Regions from separate parts of the Homo sapiens genome. Here region 2 is linked to region 1. Evidence: promoter capture Hi-C in human tissues and cell types (Jung and others, 2019). All regions are on one chromosome and are shown on one strand. Each heading gives the region's core, a stretch centred on a gene start or on the middle of the fragment in contact. The rest is flanking DNA. Distances are from core to core; before and after follow the strand shown.

Region 1 (4,212 bases), core at 764-3,263:
CAGAACATTCTTAGACACTATGATTCACAAAACATTTAAATTGCATATTTGGCTTGTAATATATTACATATTTAAAAGAATTACTATTTTTCTGAATACCATTAATACTAATAATAGCATCACAGTGACTAAGAGTGGACTTAAATAAAGGCTGGCTTGAAACTCAGGTCTGCCATTTATTAGCAAGCTTCTAAAAATTCTGAGCCCTTAGTTTTCTCACATGTGAAATGGAGAAAATAAATCTGCAAAATTAATTAAATCTGTCCATTCATATTTTTCTCTCCAGTGTATATTAACTGGCATTCCTCGTTAGGCCAGAATGTGCTCTCAACCATGCTCCAAATCCGCTTTGTGCCAACCCCACTGCCAGAACCCTTTCTACCTTGAGAACCAGAAAAGGAAACATTATGCCTGGCAATGCCTACACCCTCCAAAATAAATCTGCAGGAAAGAACACCCAGTAAGTGATGAGAGCAGCAACGACTGCCTTTATCATTTTAAATTTACAACACCACCTTTTCTAGAGCCTCTTAAGCATTGTAGATAATTCCCCACTCATTAAAAAATAAATTGTAACCATAAGTATTCAGGGTTGATACTGCTTTTGAATTAGACAGTGCTCATATCAGTTGCATAAGACCAACCTAAAGTAGAGGATGAAATCTTTTTTCTGAACCTTTTTCAGAACGTAACTTAGTGAATATATTAAAACTAAACTTTCTTTGAATGGGAGTAATTTCTACGGATTAATCTGTAATCTCTTAGACCACACCTAAGGTAATGTAGAGGTTGTTGTATCATAGGCTTTGTGATTAGAGACCACTGGATTTGTCTTTGGAAAAGTCACTCATGATTCTTTGGGCTTTGGTTTCCTCATCTTTTATACCGGCTTAATAATGACCACCGTAGAGTTGTCATGGAAGTTAAATGAACTCATGTACCATAAGTGACCAATACAATGATTGACACTCAGTGATTTATCAATAAATTAAAACATTTATTATCAATATGACAGAGAAGGTGCCGCTAAAATAGACAATAGGTTTTTGGAAGAGGTGATTAAATGGATGCAAAATTTATGGATTGTTTATTCCGTCTACCTTTGCTGTGTCCCCTGGTTGTGGCATACACACGTGTGGGTATAAAATCGTAAATCCTATGTAGTCGCGTAGTGCATGCGCAGAAGGCTTAGACACGAAATGTCATTTCAGCAATGTGCCTAGAGAAGCTCTGACGCCGCCTTGGAAGTAAGTCGTTGCTGCCTGACCTTTGGGCGTCTGGGACGGATGCCTATACCTGCACCCAGCAGCACTGGAAGGGGCCCAGGCCCTTCGCAGCACAGCCTATCCCCAGACCGCTTAGTCCTTCATAACATATATCTCCACGGAAAAGGGTATTTCCTCCCGTCAGAAAAAGCGCCCCAGTCTGGTCTGGGTTGGTTTTTATTTCACGTTGTTGCAAGTAGGCGAAGTCCCTTCTGTCTCCTCCCTTGGGGTAAGTGGAAAGGAGTCCGGCAGGGGGCCCGCAGTGGCCTGCACAGGGGAACTGGGTAGCGAGAGAGTTCCAGGCAATTCCGGGGGCTGCCCCACAGAAGCAGGTGGGGATCGACAGTGGCTCTCCGGCCCAGGGAGGAGAGCGCGGTCGCGGGTCCCTCCCCTCAGCCTGGAGGCTGCAGCCGCTCGAGTCGGCCCGGGTGGGGGCGGGGTGGGGGCGGCGCGGAGGGCACGGAGATTACGGCGGCGCCACCCGGGACATCCAGGGCCCCGAGGCCCTGGGCGGTCCCCACGCGAGATCGCAAACCATGACAATAGGCAGTCACCCGAGGTCAAATAAAAACGGAGTGGGTCCCCCGCGCGCCGCCGCCCCCCGCGTCCCTGGCGGCCTCCCCCGAGGCCCCCGGCGGCCTCACGAGCCCGCAGTAGCCGGTGGCGACGTCGCCCCCGCCCCACCTCCCTGCGCAAGTGCGAGGCTGCCGGCAGCGCGGCGCACGCTCCGGCCGTTCCCGGCTTCCGCGCAAAACTTCCATCCTGTCCACGTGAAGTTGTCGCTGCCTTAGAGAGGGGGAAAGAGCTGCGGGAAAAGCCGGGGAGTGACGACTGCGGCGGCTGGGCGCGCTCTCTCATTTTCTTTTCTTCTCCTTTCCCCCCTGTCGCAGTCCGGAGTTTTGGCTCCTCTCCTTTCCTCCTCCCCCTCGGAGCCGGCTTCTCCCTCCGCCCCGCTTCTCCCCCGCTTGTGTACGCTATTTGTTGTGGGGTGGCCGAAGGGGATGTCCTGTTTTCACCAGAGGCACAGCGCGAAGGGGAAACTTCGACACTGGAAGGAACGAGAATAAATACTTAATTACGGACGCACTGAACCGCGGCTGGGACAGACACTTCGGGAACCCGAGGCGGACCGGGCGACGAGGTGAGTGACCCCTTCTTCCAACCCCCGCCCCAGGGCTCCCGGGGGAGCCTGAGTTGAGAGAACCCCCAAACTTTCCGGGAAAGTGCGCGAGGCTCCGCCGGGGACGCCGAGCGCTGGGTACTGAGGACGCGCAGCTGGACGGTGCGTGGGCGCCTGCGTCCCCGGGGGGCGCTTGGAGGCCGGGTGCCCCACGCCTGAGGGCCCGGGCCGCTCGGACCGCAGCGGTGCTCTCTGCCCTAGAAGACGTCCCCAAGCCCCAAGGGTCCCTTCCGAGCCTGCCTGTCCCTTCCGGGGTCGGCGCGGAGCCTGCGCGTAACGGAGTTCATCCAGCAGTCCAGCGCGCGGCTTCTACCTGCACCCCGCCTCCACCTGGCAGAGGCGCGAGCATCGGGGTCTCCCCCACATCTTTCTTATGACGTGTATTACTTTCTGATGACCCCCTAGATGGTCCAGGCGCGAGGATGCTGACCCAGAGTCCTTCGGAGGGTCACAGGCGCCTGGGCTTTCCCGGTGCCGGGTGCGTGTGTACTTTAAAGGCTCGCGTTCTAATCTCCAGGCACTGATCGGGCTTTTCAACTGCGGCGATCCCACTTTAATAGTTTTTATGTGGCGTGGACTGAATGTCTCCTGCAGTTTGCCAGGGTCGGTGAAATTAGAGGCGCCTTGTCAGAGCAGTCGCGTTCATTGGCTCGAGTAGCGGGTGCCATGGAAGGCTTATAACTTCTCCAAAGGAAGGGACCTGGCTGGGTAGAGCAGGTTTTTCTCTCCTTCCAAGCCTGCTGGGTCTGGGGAGGCAGTGGAACTTGAAATGGCTCGGATTTTTAGCGTGGTGAAGCGAGGTTTGGAAGTAGACGTGTGTGTGCTTGTTTTATTCTGCGCCGCACAGCAACCCGAACTTTCGTTTGGTAGCACTTGAAAGAGTTTTCTCCCTTTGTTTGCGAGATTCTGAACAGCTCGGAGCGATTAGGGAATTTGCGGACCGAGTCCGGTGGCAGAGCTGGGGCGAAAGCAGAGAGCGCAATTTAATTTTTGTCATCTCTTCCCTGCTTGGGAGGATAGTGTTTCCCTTCACCACCACCCCTCTTTCTCCTTCCTATGAAGACAACGGATTTGCGCCTGGGGTGAGAGTGTGTGCGGGAGAGTGGTGTGGAGACTGTCCTCTCTCACCGCGTCTCCTGCGCCTCTCCCCGCCATCCCGAGCGGGCCTAGAGAGTCATTCATGAATCTTAACCTGAGGGCAGGGGAGGAAGGTGCAGGTCCCTCTGCCCTTTCTGCCAAGGTGCAGAATAGCGCCCGGGCGTGTGTTTTGGTTCCAGAGCAGTTCCACGTGGAGCAACTTCGTGTGTGTGTGTGTGTGTGTGTGTGTGTGTTGTGTACTTGATCTGTGAGGAGGTAACAGGACTCTGGTGTTCAAACCCAGTGGGCCGTTGGCCATTAGTTTGCTTTCCTGGCTGTCATTACAGACACTTCCAAAATCTGATACCTAAGAGAACCAACAGGTTAGGTTTCACATTAAGGGCTCATACTTAACAGTTTTCTTTCTCCCTTACCCCTTTTGGCTTGGCACCCTGGGATCAACGTAATTGTTGGAGCGAAATACACCTCCTGGAATATGGCATTTTGTTCCTCTTCTCATCTGTGGCCACTTTGTGAACCCTCGGGTGTTTGTCAGTTTCAGTGCGGGCTCCTGCGGGATTTAGGTGGGAGTCTTAGGAGCGTTTAACAACCGCGGGCTCCCCATCAGCAGCTTCTGAAGTTTCACTTACACGTAGGTGACTGACAGGATTGAAAGTTGACGATGGTTTT
Region 2 (4,241 bases), core at 548-3,047, 58 kb before region 1:
TAATTGCATTTTGTTTTACCAACAAGTATATACATTTTAACTGCATTAAAAGTATCTTTTAAATTCTAATTTATTAAAGTTTACTTTTAGTCAAAAATGAATGTAAAATATTATCAAATGATTTTTCAGAATTTATCAAAATAATCATGTGGTTTTTACCTTTTGACTTACTACTCCGAGTATTTCAGAAATGGATATCTAGGCCAGGTGTGGTGGCTCACGCCTGTAATCCCAGCCCTTTGGGAGGTCTGGAGGCAGGCACATGGCTTGAGCTCAGGAATCTGAGATCAGCCTGGACAACATGATGAGACCCCCATCTCTACAAAAACACAAAAATTAGCCGGGCCTGGTGGCACGTTCCTGTAGCCTCAGTCACTCTGGAGGCTGAGGTGAGAGGATCACTTGAGCCCAGGGGGTGGAGGTTGCAGTGATCCATGATTTCGCCACTGCACTTCAGCAAGAGTGACAAAGTGCAACCCTGTCTCAAAAAATAAAAATAAAAAAGCGGGTGGGGGACAGATACCTGAATTTATATCATCACTGGATTTCTGAAGTAAAACTCTTCCAGAACTGTAGTTAGCCCTTTCTTCTATAATGTCTCTTGTCCTCATTCTTAGATCAAGTTTTATCTGATATTCATACTTATAATTTACTGCCTACTTGGTATTTTACATGCCTTATCTCATTTAATTCTCACAACCACCATGAAAGTTAAATACCACTATCTTCGTGCAACTATCTTAACATTTTGTGCACAGGAAATGAGGTTCAATGAAAGTAAAGCGCTTGCCTGTTGTCTAATGGCTGGTTACCAAAAATGTCTGCTGCTAAAATCTGGGTTTATCCCATGACACTGACAGCTGAGCCTGGGATCAGGTCAGTGGAGATTAATATTTATTTTAAAGATGTCTTCAGCAAGTAATGTGGCTACGAGCTTTACTGTTCTTACTTGCCAATGGCTAAACTTTATGTCACCTGACTGTGCTGAGTGCCTTTCACCAGTGCCCTCCACCCTACAATCCACCACCCCTATCCCCAACCCTACCCTCACACAAGAATGTATACAGCTATAGGGCTAAAGGGAAAAAATACAAAGGAAGCCAATTGATTTTCCGATGCTATAATAATTTGGGTGATTTAACATCCTATGGAGGCTAGATAGCATCCTTCTGGCGTCACCTGCCTTCTTTTCCTTCTTTTGGCTTCATCTCTAACCCTGGCCAGACTCAGCATCCCCTGATCATATATGAGATTGCTCATTCGTATTATATTGTAGGACCTACTAACACCCATTAGTTCTTATTTTTCCAAATCTGAAAGTTCTACTATCAAAGTTACCTTAATATGACTTATTTTTATCTTCTAATTCTAAATTCCAGGAAGAGTTCTGGAAAACCAGAAACTGAAGCTAGCAACTAATTTACCCAATGTCCATGAAATTATTAATTCTGAAAAAGTTTTTTTAAGTGACTAAAAGACAAGATGTGCTTAACCAAGGGTCAAACTTACCGTAAGGGTATTAGATGTCTAGAAGGCAGTGGTATGTTTTATTAGCTCCATTATATATTCATCAAGTATGATGAATTCTATACACTTCTTACATCAATTCTATACACTTCTATACACTTCTTAAGGAAATGTTTGTGTGTCTATGGGAGAAATAAATAAAATGCCTTTTAACCATTATAAATTAATCTTCTTTGAAAGGCAAAATCAAATTTGGGAGCTGATACATAATTATGTGATTTCCACTTTGAGGGTAGCATCTTGCAGTGCAATAATCTGTTTCTCAAACTTAACTATATTGTATACGTTGTATTTGCCTGCATTGAGCTTCTAAGAAGACTGCTTCTTTCTTATGGGTTTTGGGGGTAGGATGAAGAAGGATACAGAAAGGTAACAGACAACTGAAGAATTTAAAACAGAGGGGCAACACCAGAGAAAAGAAAAGCCATGTATACACTTCATTTTGATGAAAAAAAACCCTCATTTCTGTTACTTTTATGTTTTTAATGATAGAAGTATGAAGAATACATAGATGATGGTCAACTTTTTAAGGAAACAGGATTATTCTTTTCTAGTCCTAAATTATTTGAAAACAGAGATCTTACCCTTCTCACCACCAAGCACAAGATTTTCTTCAGTAAATATGGTTTCATTTGATTTCTCTGCACATACATTTCTACAATCAACTACAATAGAGGCTAAGCATATAGGATGAAGGAAGGTAATTTGATATATGTACATGACCTCAGCATTTTGAAAGAATGTCATGTGTAGAGTATGGCATTAGGGTTGTGGGATTCTGGAAAGCACTCCAACGGAAATAGGACTATCAGTAGTGGCACCTGTGAGCAGACTTCAATAGAAGCTGCATAACAAGCAGTGACAAATCAAAAACTTGCATTCAAAGCCCTGTGTTCATTGCATCTGTGTTCTTTGAAAAAAAAGATGCGTAAAAATAGATGCACAAAATAACCCTTGCCCTCTAGGAGTTAACATACTAATTGAACTCATACATACTTCACATACCTTCACACATATCTTCACATACCTTCAAGTATAGGGAGAAAAACCCTGTTCATGTCATAAATATAATCAATAACATCTCATGGTTAATTACAGGAATGGTAGTGTTAATATAAATGCTGACCAATTAATTACCAATAAATACTAACAAATTAGTGACCAATAAATATTTTCACCAGAAAGCACATCAGAGAAATATATTTCATGTTTTTTGTGATTTCATAATAGGAGCAGGTTACCATTTTCAGCAATTACACATATCATATAAATATTTTAATAGCTGAGGGCATGTATGAAAATATAAAGACCCTATCAATATGCATTTGCTAGTTAGTTTACAAAAAATATGTGTCATCAGAAGGCGAAGAATAGTTAATTTACTGACCACGAATGTCCTCTTGTTTTCCAGAACTTCAAATTCTTATATTTTTGAACAACATGTTCTTAAATTACAAAAAGAACATAAAAATGTCGGGCTCAAAACAAAACACACTGCCAGAGCAGAAATAATAGAAAGATAACATATAACTGGAATTCTGATTCCCAACTATTAGTAAAAAGCCATAAACCTATACAGATCCCTTAGCATCTCTGGGTCCATTTGACCAGAGATAGTTGGAGTTAGGTCAACGGGGTCTCTTTAGCCCTTTCCTACTTCTGAATTATACAAACTGTATGATGTCAAACTATAATACAGAGAAAACAGTGCAGAGACAAACCTGCCACTCTAATTTGTCCCATGACAATAAATGTTGTTAGGCCTCAGATTCTACAAAGATAAACTGATGAACTCAATCTTTAAAAAAAAAAAATCCCTTAAACTTCTGAAATTTTATATTGTTTATGTATATTTGGAAGTATATTTCAGGGTACATTATACTTTATTGTGGGTCAATAGGGGGAGCTCTCGCATTGCTTTTTTATGTATACCACAAATAATAGAATTTACTTTACCTTAATTTTAAAGATTGGGCTGGATTATTTCATTACAATTAGGTACTTATAAGCCAGAGGCATCTCATTACTCACTACAGCAATATTAAGGTAGGCCATGTACTCAGCTGTGCCCCTTTAACTTTGAGGGCTTTTTAATCATCCATCAAAGCACACGTTTGTTAGTCTGCTTAAACCATTGCAGAAGTTGTTTTGTTTTCTGTTTGTTTTTTGGACTCCAGCTTCTTCAGATGAAGTTAAGGTCTATGTTTGATTTGTATTCAAACCTATAAGAGTTAAAGGCAGGAGGAAAGGTTTATGGAGATTAAAAATCAAGAAACCATTTCATTAGGTCTGTGCTTCTGTGGGTTGAACTTGCTACACACACAACTTGACGTGTGTACTTCAATTATTATTATTCAATTATATATTTCAGGGGCTTGGCATCTTTGCTCTTTACTGTTTTTTATTTCTTCATGTGTTATATATAATCCACTTCCCTAGCTCACAGAGGATAAAAGCAGTTCATCATAGAATCTTTAGGAAGTTTGCTTTCTCTAATTGAAACAGATGTCCCTTATGTTAATTAGAATATGAAACATGGGTTGTTAACTGTTAGCTTTCAAATGAAACTCATACATTAATGTTCAGGTAAAATGAAAATGAGACAACACAAGTTTAATAGACATTTCTTCAATAAAGTTGTGGTTTATAGTTAGGATGAAATTTTATTGCTTACTGTGATTTATACCTACTTTATCTAAAGGTTCGTGGTGGCC

What was found. The method cuts DNA at HindIII sites, captures the fragments that hold promoters and counts their contacts. A contact is called where the count stands out against the background at its distance.
Region 2: a contact is called between a fragment that was not itself captured here and the fragment with the promoter of EYA4 in region 1, in 1 of the 25 tissues and cell types used here (IMR-90 fibroblasts).

The regions. Positions count from the first base shown.
Region 1 is chr6:133,239,344-133,243,555 of GRCh38, forward strand. It overlaps EYA4 (EYA transcriptional coactivator and phosphatase 4), which reads left to right and starts at 2,014. Exons shown (of 20, transcript NM_004100.5): 1 at 2,014-2,406. LOC124901231 (serine/arginine repetitive matrix protein 1-like) reads right to left here. Exons shown (of 3, transcript XM_047419612.1): 2 at 2,876-3,068; 3 at 977-2,313. The coding sequence ends at 1,443. RefSeq lists enhancers at 2,357-3,251, 3,252-4,144. The HindIII fragment of the contact is 6,618 bases long and covers 1-4,212 here.
Region 2 is chr6:133,181,573-133,185,813 of GRCh38, forward strand. No RefSeq gene overlaps it. Among named protein-coding and RNA genes, the nearest start is that of EYA4, 58 kb to the right of the region's middle. The HindIII fragment of the contact is 5,248 bases long and covers 1-4,241 here.